Regions from separate parts of the Homo sapiens genome. Here regions 1, 2, 3, 5, 6 and 7 are each linked to region 4. The links are contacts of gene promoters, found by promoter capture Hi-C in blood cells and fetal thymus (Javierre and others, 2016). All regions are on one chromosome and are shown on one strand. The core of a region is centred on a gene start or on the middle of the fragment in contact, and the rest is flanking DNA. Distances in the headings are between cores, read along the strand shown. Region 1 overlaps TMEM119 (transmembrane protein 119). Region 2 overlaps SELPLG (selectin P ligand). Region 3 overlaps CORO1C (coronin 1C). Region 4 holds the start of UNG (uracil DNA glycosylase). Region 5 overlaps CORO1C (coronin 1C). Region 6 overlaps CORO1C (coronin 1C). Region 7 overlaps MYO1H (myosin IH).

Region 1 (3,123 bases), core at 589-3,088, 500 kb before region 4:
GTCAGGGGCTGAATCTTATTCATCTCGGCCTCCTCAGGGTTTGGCCCCATATCTGGTATTCAGTAAGTGCTCAATAAATGTACCCTGACTGACGTGGCTGAATTAATAATGATAATTTACACTTTCATGACTTTATGTGTCAGCCACTGTTTTAAGTTTCTTACATGGAACTTCTCAATGAATCCTGATCACTGCCCAGTGTGGGAAGTTCTATGATTAGGCCCATTTTGCAGATGAAAAAACAGAGGCTGAGAGGGACGTGGTGACTTGCCAGGGAAGAGCTGGGTCTGGATCCAAGCAGAGAGGGAGAAATGATAGTAGGGCTGAGTAAGTGAGAAACCGATTGAGTGACTGAGGTTGCTGAGTGACACCTCACCCCCTACCCACAACTCTGGGACCCTTCCCTTCAGTCCCCAGCCTCTCTGTGGTCCCGTTCCCCTCAGGGTCTGGCCCCCATGCACTGGGTGGCCAAAGTGGCTCCGCGCGGCCACAACCTGGTGGTTCAGGGGCTTTCTCAAACCTTCCGCCAGCCCAGCTCTACCTTATTCTGCAAAAGATTCCTAGCAGGGCAGGCGCAGTGGCTCACGCCTGTAATCCCAGCACTTTGGGAGGCCGAGGTGGGCAGATCACTTGAGGTCAGGAGCTCAAGACCAGCCTGGCCATCATGGTGAAACCCCATCTCTACTAAAAATACAAAAATCAGGCAGGCATGGTGTCGTGCCCCTGTAATCCCACCTACTTAGGAGGCTGAGGCAGGAAAATCGCTTGAACCTGGGAGGCGGAGGTTGCAGTGAGCCGAGATCGCGCCACTGCACACTCCAGCCTAGGTGACAGAGCGAGAACCTATCTCAAGAAGAAAAAAAAAAAAAGATTCGTAGGGTTTGAAGCCTCCAGGTCTCTGAGCTAGGCAGGGGTCATGGATGCCAGGGGCATGCATGGACAGCCCCCTGTGGCTGCCCTCACCCCCAGGCTCCAAGCAGGAGCCAGGATGGGCCCCAGGGTGGGGAAGTCCTGGTTCCCAAGACAAAGCTGAGCTGCCGATGCGCCCCGCCCCCACTAGATGGGAACCAGATGAGCCGGGGGCCTCCCTGCCCTGATGGAAGGCTGCTCCCGGGTGAACCCCAAGACCCCACCTGGCCCAGACAGCCCGGCTGATGAATTAATTCCTCATAGCCAGAGTTGACAGAGGAGCTGAGTTTCAAAACACTGTCTCTCCCAGCCAATGTGAGCTGGGGGCTCCCAGCTGCTCAAACCCAGGGACAATTCACTGCACTGTCCTCTGAGAACCCCTGCCCGGCCCAGCAGAGGGCTCAGGTCCCGGAAGCGGGCTTGGGTCTAGAAGCTTCAACACAGAAAAGCCTTAGGATCTCCTGTCCTGAGGCCTCAGGGAACTGAGGTGGAGAGACAGAGGCCCGGAGAAGGCAAAGGGCAGGCCCAGGGCCACACAGCAAGTTCCGGGCTGGAGGAGGAAGCCAGGCTCCCAAGGCCTCGGCTGCGGTCACATCTCCAGCACCTGGGCCTCAGGGCCTGCTTGGTGAAGCAGAGGACACTACCTTCCCCACAGGTACCGTGAGGATTCTGGAGGTGAGGTAGGAACCAGGTTGGGCCATTGAGGGGCTTGTTCCAGGTGACCTGAGGCTTCTCTGTGACACAGCTTTCATTGAAATGGATCGCATCAGCTGGGTGCGGTGGCTCATGCCTGTAATCCCAGCACTTTGGGAGGCCAAGGTGGGAGGATCACCTGAGCTCAGGAGTTCAAGACCAGCCTGGTCAACACGGCAAAATTCTGTCTCTACTAAAAACACCAAAAATTAGCCAGGCCTAGTGGCGCACACTTGTGGTCCCAGGTACCGAGGAGACCGAGGTGGGAGAATCGCCTGAGCCCGGGAAGTTGAGGCTGCAGTGAGCGGAGTTGGCACTGCACTCCAGCCTGGGTGACAGAGCAAGAACCTGTCAAAAAAAAAAAGAAAGAAAGAAAAGAAAAAAAAGAAATTAAATGTGAACAAACTGGCTTAGATGGAAAAAATAAAAAAATAATTCCAGGACATAAAAAGAGGCAAAATTGGCCAGGTGTGGTGGCTCACACTTGTAATCCCAGCACTTTGGGAGGCCGAGGCCGGAGGATTGATTGAGGGCAGGAGTTTGAGCAACATAGTAAGACCCCACCTCTACAAAAAAATAAAAAAGTAGCCAGGCCTGGTGGTGTATGCCTGTAGTCCCAGCTACTTGGGAGGATCGCTTGAGCCCAGGAGTTCAAGACCAGCCTGGGCAACATAAGGAAACCTCCATCTCTATGAAATATATTAAAATATTTCAATTTTTTAAAAAAGAGACAAAGCTTCTCAGGGGCTCATTTTAAATGAGCTGGTCACCTGTGCTTTCCTCGCGGGTACTCATCTAAGCCCTTTTCATGCCTTTAATCCTACAGGAGCCCTGAGGCAGCTTCATTATCCCCATTTTACAGATGAGGAAACAGAGGTTCAGAGACAGACAGTGACTTCCCCAAGGACACACAGATGATAAGTAGCTGAGCTGGGATCTGAACCTTCCTCTGTCTGATCCCAGGAGTTTACACGCACATTCACACAAACCACACTCACACTCATACACAGCCATACATACACATGCACACTCACCACACACACAACCATTCATACACGCCACACACTCACACACACATCCCCATACACACCCCACACATAATCATGCACACACGCCACACACACACACACCCATATACACACATGCACAGACTACACAATCATACACACATGCACACACACCACACACAACCATGCACACACATACCACACACACACTCACACACCCATATACACACATGCACATACTACACACACAATCATCTACACACATGCACACACACCCCACACACAAACATGCACACACGCCACACATACCCATATACACCCCACACACAACCACGTACACACATGCCCCACACACACCCCTATACACACATTCACATACTACACACAATCATACACACATGCACACACCACACATATATGCATACACTCCACATACACACAACCATACACATACACCACACACACTCACCTACACAACCACACACACATGCACACACCACACACTCTGAGCCAG
Region 2 (2,912 bases), core at 155-2,654, 470 kb before region 4:
CACTCTCCATGGCCAGGAGAAAACTCAAATCTCTTCAGAACAGCCCTGCTCTCAGGAAGCTTATAGTCACTGAGTGTGCCTGTGGGTAGGACCACTGTCTATTCAGAGACTCTACATTGTCCTCCCTACTAGGTAGCCAGAAAAGACAGTGCCTCTTGTTTGGTCATCTCATTGATCTTTCTTCTTGGCATTGTGAACACCTGTGCTTTCTTGTTTTCTTTCTCTCCCCTCATGCTCTCCTTGGCACTGGCTGGTGTTTACAGAATTAAAAATTCTATGCTGAGAATCCTATGGTGAGTGACAGCCACGTTCTGGGGCAGGATTCAGGTATTCCTGCATTCCCTGGATATAACACCCTTCAGCAGCACACAACTTTTAGAATAGTGTCTGATGCAGAGTGGGCATTCAAGAATAGCACCCGGACAATTTCCAGTCTCTTCCTTTGTACTTCATTCACATGATTTGGAGGAACGAACAGTTGCTCATCATTCCTCGGGTGACTGTAACTCACTCACGGGCCCCTCACCTTCCAGCCAGGTTCAATCTGATCTCTTTCATATGTTAGTTAGAATTATGTTGGTTTCTTTTCTTTTTTTTTTTTTTTTTTTTCTCCAAGACAGAGTCTCGCTCTGTTGCCCAGGATGGAGTGCAGTGGCACGACCTTGGCTCACTGCAACCTCCGCCTCCCGGGTTCAAGCAATTCTCCTTCCTCAGCCTCCCAAGTAGCTGGGACTACAGGCGCACACAACTATGCCCAGCTAATTTTTGTATTTTTAGTAGAGACGGGGTTTCGCCATGTTGGTCAGGCTGGTCTCAAACTCCTGACCACAAGCAATCTGCCCACCTCGGCCTCCCAAAGTGCTGGGATTACAGGGCGTGGGCCACCGTGCCAGGCCTATGTTGGTTTCAAATATGCAAATCTGATCATATCTTAAACTAATTTATTTCCATTTATTTATTGACTTACTTATATTAGAGACAGATTCTCACTTTGTCGCCCAGTCTGGAGTGCAGTAGTGCAATTATAGCTCACTGCAGCTTCGACCTCCTAGGCTCAAGTGATTCTCTCACCTCAGCCTCCTGAGTAGTAGGGACTATATGCACATGCCACCACATCTGGTTAATTTTTAATTTTTTTTTTTTTGTAGAGACGGGGTCTTGCTGTTGTCCAGGCTGGTCTCAAACTCCTGGCCTCAAGCAATCCTCCTGCCTCGGCCTCTCAAAGCACTGAGATTATAGGCATGAGCCACCACACCCGACCCACATCTTAAAATAATTTCTTAGGCCAGGTGCAGTGGCTCACGCCTGTAATCCCAACTGTTTGAGAAGCCAAGGCAGGTGGCTTACCTGATGTCAGGAGTTCAAGACTAGTCCGGCCAACATGGTGAAACCCTGTCTCTACTAAAAATACAAAAATTAGCCGGGCGTGGTGGTGCTCCCTGTAATTCCAGCTATTTGGGAGGCCAAGGCAGGAGAATTGCTTGAACCTGGGAGCCAGAGGTTGCAGTGAGCCAAGATCACACCACTGCACTCCAGTCTGGGAGACAAGAGCAAAACTCTGTCTAAAAAATAAAAAAATACTTTCTTAAACCAAACTTTACGATATTTGCACCAGAGACATCTGGCCCTCACAATTATCCCCATTTTACCAAGGACCACACTGAGGTTAAGAGAAGTGAAGTGACTTGCCCAAAGACACACAGCTGGTGAGAGGTCAAGATCAGACTGAAACCCAGTGAGGTTCAGGAAGGCATGAGGCCGTCAGGAGACACCTGACCTAGTTGAGGAGACAGAAGGCTGGGCTTGTGGACTTGGGTGGGAGAGGGAGGGCAGAGTAAGAAAAAGGAGGAGCTTGAAAGTTATGTCCCCCAGAAAGGCCTGCCACATATTTACCGGGTGCCATGCAGGGCATAGGGTTGAAAGCATAGATGTGGGGTCAGACAAAAAGGATGTTCAAGTCCTAGCTCTGTCCCTTACAAGCTGTATGACCTTGACACAGATGCTTGCCTCCCTGAGCTTCAGTTTTCCCATCTGTAAAATTGGGATAAGAAACAGTGCCCATCTCACAGGGCTGTTGAGACAGTGCAACAAGGGGATAGATTCAAAAGTTCCAGGCTGGTGGGCATGGTGGCTCATGCCTGTAATCCCAGGACTTTGGGAAGCCAAGGCAGGCAGATCACTTGAGCCCATGAGTTCAAGACCAGCCCGGGCAACATAGTGAGATCCCCATCTCGACACAAATAGAAAAATTAGGCCAGTCACGGTGGCTCACTCCTGTAATCCGAGGACTTTGGGAGGCCAAGGCAGGTGGATTGCTTGAGCTCAGGAGTTCCAGACCAGCCTGGGCAACATGGTGAAGCCCTGTCTCTCGTCTCTACAAAATACAAAAAATTAGCCAGGAGTGGTGGTGTGCCCCTGTAGTCCCAGCTACTCAGGAGGCGGAGATGGGAGAATTGCTTGAGCCTGGAGAGATTGAGGCTGCAGTGAGCTGTGATCATGCCACTGCACCCCAGCCTGGGTGACAAAGCAAGACCCTGCCTCAAAAATAAAATAAAAAAATTTTAAATAGAAAAATTAGCCAGGCATGATGATGCACACCTATCGTCTCAGCTACTGGGGAGGCTAATGTGGGAGGATCGCTTAAGCCTGGAAGGTTGAGACTGCAGTGAGCCGAGATTGTACCACTGCACTCCAGCCTGGGCGACAGAGTGAGACCCTGTCTCAAAACAAAACAAGAAAACAAAAGTTCCAAGCTTACAGTAGGTGCTTAATAAATGTAACACACACACACACACACACACACACACACACACACACACACACACTTTTGCCTCCCAATTTGCCTTCAGGGCAGCAGAATTTCTTTGGGGTAGAGTTCTTATCTGGGGGAAGAATCTACGGCCCAACCTTGG
Region 3 (2,714 bases), core at 6-2,505, 430 kb before region 4:
GGACATTCACCTAACCTTTCCAGGACTTAATATTGAACCTGCCTTCTGTGAGGCGGTTTGAAGACTAACATGGTAACATGAAACTGACACATTTAGAAGAATGCCTGGCATAAGGCAGACACTGAGTGTTAGTTGGTATTATTGCACAGTGCAACCAATGCTATGCTGGCATAAGCCGACCGCACTACTACGAAATTAGCTTCCTGCTAACCAAGCTTGGTCCACCCAGGAGGGCTCCCTGAGGAGGTGACCTCTAAGGATGAACAAGACTTAGGTGAAAGTAGAGCAGAATATGAGGAGAAATTGAATATCCAGTCTCAAAATAAAACACGCAGATGTGTAGAGCAATTTTCTAAAAAGTGCATGCAGCATTTAAACAATGCCATAAAGAAGCTGGCTCAGGAGCTGCTAGGGAAAAAGCACCAGAGTGAAAAAGCTAATACTATAAGCACAAGGACTGCAATGCGAGAAGAAAGTGAGTGAAAAAGTCTCTGAAATGAAATAAGAAGACAACAGAATTCTTGTGTCCACTGGTAAAGAGGGGGTGGTGTTCTCTACGGTGGACTGTGGAAAGAGCTTGGGGGTTGGGGGCGGTCTGTAGGTCTTTCCACACTCAGCATACACATGCTCTGGCTGGCACCCAAAGGCCATGCTCACAGGCCTGTCATTATGTGGCTCTCTGCCCTCTTCAGGGTTGTCTGCTACTCTGGGTGATGGCCTGCTCGGTTTGGACTGATGTTCCTGCAGCTCAGGGACAACAACAAACAGAAGCACCACTTGGTACATGTTTGGTCCTCTTGTGTGTAATATGGGATGCTGGCCTGGGTGTCAGAAGACACAGGCTCCTGTCAGAGCTGGGACACTAATTGGTCATGTTAGCATTAAGAAGGGATTTCACTTCTGGGAGCCTGAATTTCCTTAATACTGGGGACAGCTGTGCTTACTCAGGGGTTATTAGAAGGGTTAAATGAGCTCAAACATTTTGCATGCCCCAAAGCACCACCCTAATAGGAAATACTGCAACTAGGGAGAAGAGCATGGGGCTTTCTTTGGAGCTAGACAGATCTGGGTCTGGCTGAGCCTTTTATCAGCTGTGTGACCCTTAACAAAACTGCCACTCTCTGAGCCTGTTTCCTAAGTTGTAAAATAGGCCACACTCATGGCTTACTGTGCGGATACAATAACTAAATATTATCATGCACATAAAGGCTTAGAATAGCGCGTGGCAAAAAAAAAAAAGAGCCTACCATATTTTCATGATGACTTTTTTTGCTGTTAATATGACCACTATGACGCCATATATATTTCTAGGTCTGAACATCAGAATTTCTTAGAATGAGTCTTGTCTTCAAATTAATTCAGCACTGTACCCAATTAATTAATACTAACTAATTTACACCCAAGATATCATTATGTGTGAAAGCTCTGGTTTATACCTAGGCCAATTACCACAGTAAGGACAGATCTGATCTCTGTGCAGGCTTGTTAGCTTTTCTTTGTTCTATGGCTACAGACTGGTACTGTAATACCAACCAGCTTTCTCAAAACTGTATGCAGTGAGTGCAGAGGAAAACAGACACAAAACACCCAGAGTAGGCATCTCAGTGCAGCAGAGAGTACAAGTTATCCCTACTTCCTCTTTTTTATTTTATTTTCTTAATTTAAATAATGCTGTGTGTTCCTAACATTTTCTGTTTGGACAACACATTACTATGGCAATGTTTTGTTTTGAAAGGACAAAAATGAAATCAGAGGAGCTGTGGTGGCTCAGGCCTGTTGTCCTGGTGCATAAGGAAGTGAGGCTCGGCGTTCAAGGCCAGCCTGTGCAACATAGAAACCTCTCATCTATATAACCAAAAAAATGACATTCAGTTCCAAGGGCTCCTACATGAAAAAGTGAATCCATCAGTAAAATCCCATTGTGGTTCTGGAAAAAAACAACTTTAAGCACATGTTCAGAACTACTGTACCATGGGCATCCTTTTCACATGTGAAAGCCTGGATATGGAAAAAGGACAACTCAAGAGAACAATCCCAACAAGAAAAAAGGAAAACTAAGACACTTGGGTTTCTCTCACGTGCTAATTTTAAAGTACAATTAGTTAAATAGTTTTATTTTTCAAATACTGCTTTCCAGACACTGCTTCCCTATTTTAGTCACCCATCATCAACTTGCTACTGGGCTAGGACTAGAGTTACAGCCATAAAAAGGGTTACACCCCCAAAAGACCCTATTTTTCCATTCCTAAGGAAACCAATTCCAAATGGGAAATGAAGAAAATACATGAGACAGGAGAAAGCTTAAAGATGTGGTAGCAGCTGCAGACCAGTACAGCGTCCTACAGACGCCCACAAAGGCCTGCATGTAGGGCATCAGGGCATTCCCAAATGAACCATGACGTGCAGAGTGGCACCGAGTTCGGGAAAACCAAGAACCGAGTGTTGGGTTCCGATCTGCCAGGGTTATAATATCCTCTGGCAAATGGCCCAGATGCAATCTGTACAAAATGGAATTAAGACGAAGCCCTCCCTGCTGAATGCCTGAGAGGAACCAAAACATCACTTCCATTTTTATTTCAGGGCAAAAACTATATTAGAAAGCATTAAAGCTCTTTTAAAAATTGTCTAGCAGGTTTTCCAGTCTTTGTCAAATGCCTTCCCACCCGCCAAAAAAAACTATATTAGGAAAATTTATAATGGAAGCAAAAATGGAT
Region 4 (2,811 bases), core at 289-2,788:
TGGAGTGCAGTGGCACAATCTCAGCTCACTGCAACCTCCGCCTCCCGGGTTCAAGTGATTCTCCTGCCTCAGCCTCCTGAGTAGCTGGGATTGCAAATGCATGCCACCACGCCTGGCTAATTTTTGTATTTTTAGTAGAGACGGGGTTTCACCATGTTTGCCAGGCTGGTCTCGAACTCCTGTGCTCAAGCGATACGCCCCTCCTTGGCCTCCCAAAGTGTTGGGATTACAGGCGTGAGCCACCGAGCTGGGCCAGGCCCCAGGTATTGTCATGATGTAAAAATCTCTCTCTAGAAAAGAGAACACCAGCTTCCCAGCTGGTCTTCTGTAGCTAGGAGATGCAAGAGCAGCAGTTGAATTTGAGGTTTGCTTTGGAGAAAGAACCAAAAGCAGATATGGATGGTTTGGATGTGAGGGAGGGAAAGAGAATCCTAAGTGTATTAGTAGTGGTGGGAGGAGGTTCGGTACAGTGGTGTCATTTGGAAGACAAATCGTTGGTGTTTAACCTCTATGACCCGAAAGTCTCCCACAAGCCTGATACATTAGGCAAAATGTTTGACTGCACTAAGCCTTAGTTTATCGTCATAAAATAGGCCATGAAAATTGCGTGAGAAAATGTATATAACAGTTCAACAAATAATATTGGCTGGGTGTGGTGGCTCATGCCTGTAATCCCAGCACTTTGGGAGGCCAAGGTGGGCAGATCGCCTGAGGTCAGGAGTTCGAGACCAGACTGGCCAACATGGTGAGATCCCCCATCTCTACTAAAAAAATACAAAACACACTTGGGCAAACATGGTGAAACCCCATTTCTACTAAAAATAGAAAAATTAGCCAGGCGTGGTGGCGCGCGCCTATAATCCTAGCTGAGGCACGAGAATCGCTTGAATCCGGGAGGCGGAGGTTGCAGTGGGCTGAGATCACACCACTGCATTCCAGCCTGGGCGACAGAGCAAGACTCTGTCTCAAAAACAAAATACACACACAAAATATAATAGTATTTGTTTGTTTGTTTGTTTTTGAGATGCCTCGGATTACAGTGCGGGGATTACAGACGTGAGCCATCAAGCCCGGACAATATTATTATATTGTTCATTGCACTCCCACAACACCCCTAAGGGGCAGGAACTTTTCTTCCCAGCCCCCTCCCCCCGACCCCACCGAGAGACAGGGTCTCGCTCTGTCGCCCAGGCCTGGAGTGCATTGGCGCGATCAAAGCTCACTACAGCTCAGACCCTCTGGCCTCAAGCGATCCTCCAGCCTGGGCCTCCCAAAGCGCTAGGATTACAGGCGTGGGCCACCGCGCCTGACCAGTCTTCTCTTCTTGCAGCTGAGCCTTAAGAGCCTGTCCAAAGAGCAGAGGTGGGCTGAAGGCACAAAGCGAATGAAAGAATAGGCCCCCGGGCACCGTTGCACGCCCCACCTCCTCCCAGGGGCGTTGCACTCCAGCCCCTCCCGCACATGCGCACTGGGCCTTCCACCGCCCCCCGCCCCCAGCAAAGCCCCCCGCTCGGAGCATGCGCGGGCCGCTTGGCGCCAATTGCTGACCGCCACAGCCACAGCCAGGGCTAGCCTCGCCGGTTCCCGGGTGGCGCGCGTTCGCTGCCTCCTCAGCTCCAGGATGATCGGCCAGAAGACGCTCTACTCCTTTTTCTCCCCCAGCCCCGCCAGGAAGCGACACGCCCCCAGCCCCGAGCCGGCCGTCCAGGGGACCGGCGTGGCTGGGGTGCCTGAGGAAAGCGGAGATGCGGCGGTGAGGCGCGGCTTGGGCCGGGGCTAGGGGGTGAAGGGGGAGGAAGGCGGTGGGCCCCGCCTGACGGAGGGCGTGCAGGATCGCGCCTCTGACTCGGTAAACCCGGGCTCCGCTTTCCAAATAGCCTCCACGTGTTCAAAATAGCCGCCGCTGTCCCCCATGGGCCGCCATGCTAAAGGGCCAGCCAATGGGAACGCGTCTCGGGGCCCATGGCGCCAATCCGCGCGCCGCAGGCCCTCCTGGCTCGGTGCGCTGTCCAATCAGAGGGGAGAGGGGGCGGGACCCAGAGGGAGGTTTTTTGCCGCGAAAAGACCACGTGGGGACGCGGTGGGGCGGGTCTGGCGGGGGCGGGGCACCTCTGTGCAGGGTTCCCAGTCACCGCGACGCTCCTCGGGAAGCCATAGGGCGCCTCCCAGCCCGTCTCCCCGCTCCAGTTTAGAACCTAATTCCCAATTCCCGGACCGGGCCCAGCCCTGGGCTCTTACTGTCCGCTTTTGCTGGGACCTGTTCCACAAATGGGCGTCTTCTGCCTTGGGCCGTGGGGGTTGGGCCGGAAGCTGCGGACGCCTGGGAAGGGGCCGCTGCAGCTCTTGAGCCGCCTCTGCGGGGACCACTTGCAGGCCATCCCAGCCAAGAAGGCCCCGGCTGGGCAGGAGGAGCCTGGGACGCCGCCCTCCTCGCCGCTGAGTGCCGAGCAGTTGGACCGGATCCAGAGGAACAAGGCCGCGGCCCTGCTCAGACTCGCGGCCCGCAACGTGCCCGTGGGCTTTGGAGAGAGCTGGAAGAAGCACCTCAGCGGGGAGTTCGGGAAACCGTATTTTATCAAGGTAAATATGGAAATGCACCTTCCATAAGGGTAAATGTGGAGGCTGCCGGCCCTTTTGTCTTGTTAGTGTAGCCGGCCAAGTTCATGTTTCCGTAGGCTTAGGTTGTACCCCCTTCAACCTCCTTTACTCACAAAGGGGGTAAAAGAAAGCCATGATGTTTCACTCTGCAGCTTTATATTGGTTAAAGTTGTTAACGACCCGCGAGATGATATCATGGATTCATTTAAGTCA
Region 5 (3,177 bases), core at 529-3,028, 450 kb before region 4:
AAACGTATTTCCCAGTTCCGATGACCTTTGTTTTCTGCCATATTAAAGTCTTACGTAATTTAATTTTTATATAGCCAATCTGTCTTTTCCTTTGTGATGTATTCCATTGCTTTAGGGCTTACATTTTTTCTAGTCTGAAGTGTAGATTAAAAGGGACTTACTTTCTTCTAAATAGAAAAAGAAAAGGTTTTATTTTAACTGTGGACTCCATTAAGAATGTATATTGGTGTCCCTGCTGCCCCCACAGCTAACCAAATGTTGCTGCACCATTTCAAACATCTCCACTGATTTATGCTTATCTTAATAATTATTAACTTATCACTAATACATTAATTTTAATAATGCCTTTCTGGGAATAAATACATTTATAGGAAATTTCTAAATTCAGAAAAATAGGATTAAATAGAAATTACACACAACTTTACCTCCCTATAGCAATAACAACATTTCTGGTATTTATTCTACACATAAGTATACATTGTATATGCATATATCCTTTAAAAAGTTTGTCACAAGCCATCTGTTCGGGGTTGGTTTTACATATCTGTATTAGGAAACCTACACCTCTCACTAGAAGTTCTGGTCCTGAATGTTCTTATGAGGTCCAATGGACTTCACTTTCTTCCCCATTTTACTTCTGAATGGATTAGCCAACTAACATCATTTACTGCAGAGTGACTCCATGGGGTAGAGAGCTGATGAGAATTACTTTGTAAACACACTTTTTATGCTGACATCAGCAACACAGTTCACTGTAGGGCTCTTGGCATACACAGAAAAAAGTTGGTAGTGACATCCAGCACCCAGAAATAATATACTTTCATGTTTCAACCTAGGTAGGTATATATTTTAAACCCAAGTTGGAATTGACTTTATTTTACTATTTTTTTAATGTTTCCTATTCAATACTCTTTTTAAATGACTTTAAATAATGGAACAGAATTATAACATATGGATATGACAAGTAACTTACTGACCCCCTTCTGCAGAGTTGATTTTACTCTTCTAATTCCTGAATATACCTCCCACTAGTTCCCTGGGACAAAATTTCCAAAGGTGAGAATCTTGGGTCTTAAGAAAACCTTTAAGGCTTTTGATCCACTTGCCAGACTGCCCTCTGGAAAGGCTGTCCACCCCGCACATACCCGCTTTTCGCAGGAGAGGACTGCCACCCCTACATTCTTTGGCAAGGGACTTCTTTTTAACGAATAAAAGAGCACAAAGGGCACTGTCCGGCCTGGACATCAAGGGTTGCCCGTCTGAAGCAGGAAAGGCGTGCCCTTGACGGTGACTCATGTCCGTGACCCACTGCCAGCACTGGGATACTTAATGTGCCCGCAGAAAGAGAAGGGCCCACTTAGAGTTAACAGATTCTTAAGAGCCAACAAAGAGTTTTTCTGGGTGTAGAATACCAAGTACAGCAAGGGAAGTGACCTTGAAAAAAAAAATGGAAGTTCCCCCCAGACGAGGTCTGGCTGGCTGTCTGGGGCCAGCATGCTGACCTTCAGGTCTTCTGGCAAAGAATCAAGGTGGCCCGAGTGAGAAAACAAGTTAGTCATAAACAGACCACCACGCGTCTCCTGGCTGACTGCGGGCACCTCGGGTCTACAGAGAGCCCTGCCAACTTCTACTTCCTGCAGCCACGAGTGGACCAAGAACATGGCAGCCATTCTTCTCATAGACTAAAGCAACTTTAAGATAAGGCATTTGAGGAAGGGGAGCTTTATGCTGACCATTCATCATATTCAGAAAAAGCAAACAGTGGGAAATTCTTTGCTACAATCACTGAAATGTCACGAGACAATGTCATAGTGCGAAAGGGAAGCCCTGCAATTCAACTGACCCTGGAAGCCTGCTGGAATAAAAGTCACAGCTGAGCCAAGAGAATTTTGCTTCTATTGAAGAAAAAGTGCTTTCAAAGACTCTGTCAGAAAATCAACTCATAATAGTAACAGTAGCGGCCATGCAGCGAGGGTTGTTTGTGTGGCCACACAGGTATTCCTCTCATCTGAACTACATGGAATTATCATCCTCCTTTCAAGAAAAGGGACTCAGAAGGATTAGGAACCCCATCCCAGGACACACCGCTGGCAAAGGTCTGAGGCAGGATCCAAAGGCTCAGGTCTGCTGGAAGCCAAAACACAGTGCTTGACTGGCTTGGAGACCTCACTTGTACTTGAACTGAGCCACCCACACGCGCTTCCCCTGTACTTACCCCCGGAGAGGAGTATGGCACCGTGCTCGTCCACCAAAGTCAGAGAAGCTATGTCAGGCAGAGAGGTGGGGGCTGCCTCACAGACAGCCAAGGCGTGAAATAAACACAAACACCATTTTGTAATCAATGATTTTTATCTCTGAAAATGGAAGCAAGTGTTTTGACAGAACACTATGGCCACTCTATAAGAGCCGACCTAGGAGTAATTCACTGTCCTCTTCTGGGATGTCATGGCTTAAAAAAAAAAAAAAAAAAAGACAAAACAGGAAAATAATCCACAATGCTTTGGGCGCCTACTCTGAGCTTGGCTGGGCATCCATTCATTAAATAAGTCATAAGCTACAAACTAAGATCAGGGTAACTTTCCCTTGCCCTCCTGCTTCTCTTTGAACCACATGCCCTACGGTGTTTCACCACCATCAACAACTTTACTTCATTAATTCGATATCAGAACCTTAAAACACTACTGAATCTTAGACAAAAGGTCCTCAGCAGATTACATTGATAAAGAAACAAATACAGATTTGAATATAAGTCATTGCCATTATTGTTTTCTTTACATCTCATGATCCACTTCAATATTAAACACATACATACACACACACAAAACCACATCAAACATTCAGATGCCCTGAAATTGTGGAGACAGCACTCCCAGTATTGGCTGGATAAGAACATGGTCCTTTTTCTACACGGACATTACTCCAAGTTCGGCTGTCACCACACTCTGCCCTCACCCTGGCTCCCTGCATACAGACGTTTCCAGCCAGTCCCATGCCCACACCAGCACGAGCATGTGCAAGAATTCCCTTCGTGGTCCCAATGGCACTACACATTTCACGTTCAATCACAGACAGCCCTTCCAAAACAGAGGCTCCTTAAATCTTGTTTCCCAAGCATGCACTATAAGAAACTGGAAACGGGGCAAAGTTCCAGCTAACCGAGGAATGAACAGGTGACCA
Region 6 (2,879 bases), core at 286-2,785, 410 kb before region 4:
AAACTGGATAGATCAGGAAAAGAGATAAGGCACAAATGAATACCAATAATTTTAAAAGGGACATAACTTACAAATAAAGTAGAAATTTACAGAGTATGAAAACACTAGGAATAACATTTGACAATATATATAAAATTGAATAATCTAGATGAAATACACAATCTCACAGAAGTAAAAGTAACATCAAAAGATTTTCAAGAATAAATAAATGTAAATTAGATCCATAACCATAAAAGATCAGTAGTATAACTCTACCCATCACCACCTCCCAATCAATCAATCAATCAGCAAATACCAAAAAACACTAGGCCCAGATGGTTTTACAGGTGAGTGTCACCAAATATTCAAGGAAGAGATCATTTCAAACAAAGCTTTCCAGAGAACAGAAAAAAGAAAAGTGCCACTGAATTCATCATATAAGGAATGTAACACCTTGATACAAAGGACAGTATAAGGGAGAAAAATTGAAGCCTATATGACTTATAAATACTGATGCAAAGCTCCTCACAAACAGCAACAAAAGCAAACCAAATTCAGCAGTGTGAGTTGTTCTTTAAAAATGTAAATGAACAGACAAGTTACAAAGTGCAAGAAGAGGTATGCAACATACATACCTAACAAAATCAACAACCAAACAGAACGATGGGCAAATTACACAAGCAGAGAACTCACAGCGAAGAAAATCTGAAGACGCAATAGATGTGTGAAAAGATACTTCAATCTCACTGATAATTAGAGAACTGCAAATTAAAACAACATGGTCACATTTTATACTCATCAAAACTGGTGAAAATGTAAAAGTATAAATATAAGTGCTGACAAGGATGTCAGGAAAGAGGAACTCATAAACTGCTTACAGAACACCTTGTTACAATTCCTTTCAAGAGCAATTTGGTAACAGGTAGAGGTGAGGAAGTCCAGCCCAGCAATGCCACTTCTAGGTGGTCTGGGTGAGAGAGATGCTCCCATATTTTGTACAAGAGGAATATTTATTGCCGCATTGTTGGAAATAGTGGCAAAAGCAGAAGCAATTTCACTGTCCTTCAGTATGGGAATACATATTTACATAAAAGTTTAAGGCACGCGAAATAAAAGTACATGTTACAGATAAACATATATGTAATAAAAATATGATACATATTTGAAGAAAAGATTACCTCTGGGGAAGGAGAAAATAAATAAGAATGGTATTCTACCTGTATCTGTTATGCTTTATTACTTTTTTCAAAAAGGGGAGATATGAAACAAATATGGCAAAATATTAACATCTGTTTAATCTTGTGAGTACATGTGTGTCCTATTATTTTGATACATCTTATTTTGAAAAAAAGAATTTAAAATATAATAAAGTTAAGAAATACACCAATGCATTATTATTAAATTTGCATTAAAATTTTTTTTTACTCCCAAGGAAAAAAGCTTTTCTACCTGAATTGTTTTGTTTTACATCAGGGTCTTTGCATTCCTAGGCTCTGCCCAGGAAACCACATTTGGCATCCTTGATGGCCAACTATAGTACTGAGCTCTGAACTTCCAAGAACACCAAATGATTTTTTCCAATCTGGGCTAAGAAGCGCTTTTATTCAAACACAAAGCAATTTTGAGGGGAATCTGGAAGTACTAGCACTAGTTGTTCTTAATTACATACTAAGAAGCTTCTTACTAAATGACTTCTTTTTTGAAGTTAAAATTAAATAACCCTGGCTAAAAGTTAATAGCTATTCACCAGTATTCTTCAGTCAAGATATCTGAGAATAATAATAAGCATTACTGCCATTCCCAGCTCAGCCCCAATAAATCCACAGCCTGAAAGTACTAGAGCTCAACATTTTCTCTGGAACCTGAATGTCACTGAAAGAGCAACTGCCAGCTATTTCTGTCCTTTCTATCAAAACAAATAATAACAATGGCTAACACTTTTTAAGTACTTAAATTACAAGCTAGGAACTGTCTGAAGACCTTGATAACTTTGTCCTCATGACAACCTTTAAGATGTGGGAATCTTATCACCCTATTTTCCAAATAAAGAAACTGAGGCACAGAGAAAGTCAAGAAGCAAAGATCTAAAATATCACTGACCAACCATACTAGATTTGGATAGGGAAAGAAAATTTCCACTATGCCATGGGTTGTAAAAAAAAGGCACACAAGTAATGTTAAAAATTATTGGCAATTGGCCATCAGAAACACAGTTAATAAAAAATGATATTCTACAAGCAGCTGCTTCCTCTGGTTGTGATGTCATCATAAATCCTTAAATAAAACAGAGAAAGTAGTATTCTACTGTAGCACAAGAGAAAAGCAATTGACTAAATATCTGACAGTGATAAAAGAACAAAAATGTGAAGACAGTATGGGGGTAGATGGCATTTTAAAGGTACACTGATTATTTGGCATGCTGGATGTTCACAAACACACAGTCAAGTATCAGCTATCCTGCTTTCAAGGGCTTACACCTCTAAGTATCTTCTTACTCATAATGAAATCAAAACAAAAGCACAACAACATATTTCACCAAATCAGCATACGTTATTAAAAATACAAAGCTGGGCACTTACAAACTGCTGAGGGCTCCAGTTCATGGAGATTAAAGGAAACCATACTAATAACGGCCTTATATGGTAAAGATGAGGAAACATCATTCTGAAAGACATTTTGCACTAGGATCTAATAAGAACACAATTCTCATTCGTCTGCACGACACATACTGATTTATCATGTAGTGAACAAACCAAAGAATCCATGTATAATTAGCTAGATTGTGAGGGGCCACTCAGAAAGACATCCACCACATGTCATGGTGACAACACAGTTTACCTGAACCTCTAAGCAGCAAATTTAAATGAATGCAGAGGCTGAAAGGAAGATGTACAAGAATT
Region 7 (2,837 bases), core at 157-2,656, 300 kb after region 4:
GCAGTGACACAGTAATGGATCACTGCAGCCTCCACCTCCCAGAGCTCAGGTGATCCTCCAACCTCAGCCTCCTAAGTAGCCAGGACTACAGGTACACACCACCACCCTGGCTAATTTTTGTAATTTTTATAGAGACAGGGTCTCAGTGTGTTGCCCATGCTGGTCTCGAACTCCTGGGGCTCAAGCGATCTGCCTGCCTCAGCCTCCGAAAGTGCTGGGATTACAGGGTGTGAGCCACCATGCCCAGCCACCACCATGTATTAAAAGCCGAAATGGCTTTGGAACTCTGCCTCGTATTCAGGTTATATTCCTGGGATACCTTCATGCTTTGGTGTCTGATCTTGAAGATAAAGCACTTCTCATAGTTTTACCTCTTGTCCTAAAGATATCACTGAAGTTTGTTAATCTCTTTGGTTTCCTGCCACTCCATTTTTAGTATTCTAGGTTTTGAGGGAAAAAATACATGAGATCTTACTCTATTTATTGAATTGAATTATTTAGTATTTAGACAAGATTGTTATTTTCATCTAGAGTTAATAGAACGTCTCTTGGAGATGTAACTTAGTAGCTGGCTTATTCTTATAAAACATGTTGATGGATTAAAAACATAAATTTGGTGAACTTTAAAAAATATTTTCAGGCCAGGCGCGGTGGCTCACACCTGTAATCCCAGCACTTTGGGAGGCTGAGGCAGGTGGATCACGAGGTCAGGAGTTCCAGACCAGCCTGATCAACATGGTGAAACCCCGTCTCTACTAAAAATAAAAAAATTAGCCAGGCGTGGTAGTGCTGCACTTATAATCCCAGCTACTCGGGAGACCGTGGCATGAGAATCGCTTGAACTTGGGAGGCAGAGGTTGCAATGAGCTCAGATCGTGCTACTGCACTCTGGCCTGGGCGACAGAGCGAGACTCCATCTCAAAAAAAAAAAAAAATTCTCAAATTCTTCCTTTTAGCTCTTCTACTATTTGAGTTTTGATATCTAGTACACTCTATATTTGATTAGTCAGTGGGTCGTGGTAGAGGATTTTTTGTTTTTTTGTTTTTCGGGTTTGGGTTTTTTTGTTTTGTTTTTTGTTGGTTTGTTTTGTTGTTGTTGATGTTGTTGTTGTTGTTGTTTTTGAGACAGAGTCTTGCTGTGTTGCCCAGCCTGGAGTGCAATGGCATAATCTCGGCTCACTGCAACTTCTGCCTCCCGGGTTCAAGCAATTCTCCTGCCTCAGCCTCCCGAGTAGCTGGGATTACAAGCATGCACCACCATACCTGGCTAATTTTTGTATCTTTTTTTAGTACAGAAGGGATTTCATCATGTTGGCCAGGCTAGTCTCGAACTCCTGACCTCAAGTGATCCACCCGCCTCAGCTTCCCAGAGTGCTGGGATTACAAGCATGAGCCACTGTGCCCCGCCTATGGAAAGGGTTTGATATGTGTTTGAGCTCATTGTCCTTGTACCACAGTCTGGATGTGGCTTCCTGGAGATGGAGCACCTCATTTTTCTTCTTTGGTGGGTGTCAGAGTCAAGGGAAGTACCATTAAAACGAATTTGTTTCCGTCTCACTCCTCCTCCAGCTACGCTATAGCCGACAACGCTTACCGAATGATGTGTGCTGAACTAAATAACCATTTCATCCTCATTTCTGGAGAGAGTGGGGCAGGGAAAACAGAGGCCTCCAAGAAAATTCTCGAGTATTTTGCAGTGACCTGCCCAATGACCCAGTCACTACAAATAGCCCGTGACAGACTGCTGTTCTCCAACCCAGTGCTGGAGGTAAGCGATCTCTGGGGACCAATCGAAGGGAGTTCCAGGGAGGTCACTAAGTGAGACAAATCCTGTCTGGGCAGGTCAGTCAAAATGGGCAGGTCACTGTTAAGAAAAGAGGTCACACAGATAGTGTCACAGTTAAGGGTGTGACCTGGAACTAAGCCCATTTCCCCATTTGTTGAATGGGTCTGCTTATAGTACCTACCTTTTAAGACATTTGGTTTTTGTTTTGGTTTCGTTTTTTTTTTTTTTTTTTTTTTTTTTTTTTGAGACGGAGTCTCTCTCCGTCACCCAGGCCTGGAGTACAGTGGCACAATCTCGGCTCACAGAAACCTCCGCCTCCTGAGTTTAAGCAATTCTCCTGCTTCAGCTTCCCAAGTAGCTGGCACTATAGGCACGTACCATCATTCCCAGCTAATTTTTGCATTTTTAGTAGAGACGGGGTTTCGCCATGTTGGCCAGGCTAGTCTGGAACTCCTGACCTCAGGTGACCTTCCCTGCATCAGCCTCCCAAAGTGCTGTAATTACAGGCGTGAGCCACCACACCCAGCCTAAGAAGTTTTGAGGCTTAAGTGAAACAGATGCACAAAAAACACACAGCAGAATTAGGAAGCACCAAAAATAATGTATTATTTATTAATAGTTTTCTTATTATTGAGTTAAAATTATTTTGGTTATGATTACTTCCACTATTGCAATTCACTGACTTGCTGAACAAGTCATTTTCTCCTGTGTTTTTGTGGCCCTTTCTATAAATGAAGATGTTTATAGTTGAAGGAATTTTCCCAGTGGACCCTTTGAGCAGAGCAACGGTGGTATAAAAAGGGGTCTGGTGATGGGGGCTGTCCACTGTACCTTCTAGAACAGCATGGGGCTAGGGTTCTATGTACCCCTCCTGAGACCATTTCCAATATATTCCTAATTGGATTCTAGGAAGAAGATATTGTTCCCCTTTTCTCCCCGGGTCCAGATCTAGTGTTTGGCATTAAATTCTCTGTAGTTAGCGATTCCTTCTTAGAAGATAAAGCATGCCTTTCCTCCCTGGCTCCTTCCGCTCTCTCTCCTCCATTTTTGT

What was found. Contacts are between HindIII fragments. The CHiCAGO score rates a contact against its expected background, and 5 or more counts as called.
Region 1: a contact is called between a fragment that was not itself captured here and the fragment with the promoter of UNG in region 4, in 1 of 17 cell types (endothelial precursors). The highest score is 5.7, in endothelial precursors.
Region 2: a fragment that was not itself captured here is called in contact with the fragment with the promoter of UNG in region 4 in 8 of 17 cell types (total CD8 T cells, total CD4 T cells, activated CD4 T cells and 5 more); the score reaches 12.2 in total CD8 T cells.
Region 3: a contact is called between a fragment that was not itself captured here and the fragment with the promoter of UNG in region 4, in 14 of 17 cell types (total CD4 T cells, total CD8 T cells, naive CD4 T cells and 11 more). The highest score is 16.0, in total CD4 T cells.
Region 5: a fragment that was not itself captured here is called in contact with the fragment with the promoter of UNG in region 4 in 1 of 17 cell types (naive CD4 T cells); the score reaches 6.3 in naive CD4 T cells.
Region 6: a fragment that was not itself captured here is called in contact with the fragment with the promoter of UNG in region 4 in 1 of 17 cell types (M0 macrophages); the score reaches 6.0 in M0 macrophages.
Region 7: a fragment that was not itself captured here is called in contact with the fragment with the promoter of UNG in region 4 in 1 of 17 cell types (endothelial precursors); the score reaches 5.6 in endothelial precursors.

The regions. Positions count from the first base shown.
Region 1 is chr12:108,592,596-108,595,718 of GRCh38, forward strand. All of the region lies in intron 1 of TMEM119 (transmembrane protein 119), which reads right to left. Among named protein-coding and RNA genes, the nearest start is that of TMEM119, 3.9 kb to the right of the region's middle. RefSeq lists an enhancer at 1,052-1,718. The HindIII fragment of the contact is 996 bases long and covers 1,341-2,336 here.
Region 2 is chr12:108,625,540-108,628,451 of GRCh38, forward strand. All of the region lies in intron 1 of SELPLG (selectin P ligand), which reads right to left. Among named protein-coding and RNA genes, the nearest start is that of SELPLG, 6.9 kb to the right of the region's middle. The HindIII fragment of the contact is 2,694 bases long and covers 58-2,751 here.
Region 3 is chr12:108,665,850-108,668,563 of GRCh38, forward strand. The region is part of intron 3 of CORO1C (coronin 1C); the gene reads right to left. It also overlaps the pseudogene RNU7-169P. Among named protein-coding and RNA genes, the nearest start is that of MIR4496, 31 kb to the left of the region's middle. The HindIII fragment of the contact is 2,085 bases long and covers 214-2,298 here.
Region 4 is chr12:109,096,059-109,098,869 of GRCh38, forward strand. UNG (uracil DNA glycosylase) reads left to right here and starts at 1,539. Exons shown (of 7, transcript NM_080911.3): 1 at 1,539-1,753; 2 at 2,374-2,580. The coding sequence starts at 1,622. RefSeq lists a silencer at 1,718-2,107. The HindIII fragment of the contact is 3,702 bases long and covers 1-2,811 here.
Region 5 is chr12:108,642,779-108,645,955 of GRCh38, forward strand. CORO1C (coronin 1C) reads right to left here. Exons shown (of 11, transcript NM_014325.4): 11 at 2,331-3,177. It overlaps LOC105369968 (a long non-coding RNA gene), which reads left to right. Exons shown (of 3, transcript XR_007063449.1): 3 at 1-3,177. Among named protein-coding and RNA genes, the nearest start is that of MIR4496, 8.6 kb to the left of the region's middle. The HindIII fragment of the contact is 5,234 bases long and covers 1-3,177 here.
Region 6 is chr12:108,683,482-108,686,360 of GRCh38, forward strand. The region is part of intron 2 of CORO1C (coronin 1C); the gene reads right to left. Among named protein-coding and RNA genes, the nearest start is that of CORO1C, 47 kb to the right of the region's middle. The HindIII fragment of the contact is 236 bases long and covers 1,418-1,653 here.
Region 7 is chr12:109,394,815-109,397,651 of GRCh38, forward strand. It overlaps MYO1H (myosin IH), which reads left to right. Exons shown (of 32, transcript NM_001101421.4): 4 at 1,570-1,768. Among named protein-coding and RNA genes, the nearest start is that of LINC01486, 37 kb to the left of the region's middle. RefSeq lists a silencer at 1,776-1,976. The HindIII fragment of the contact is 4,444 bases long and covers 1-2,837 here.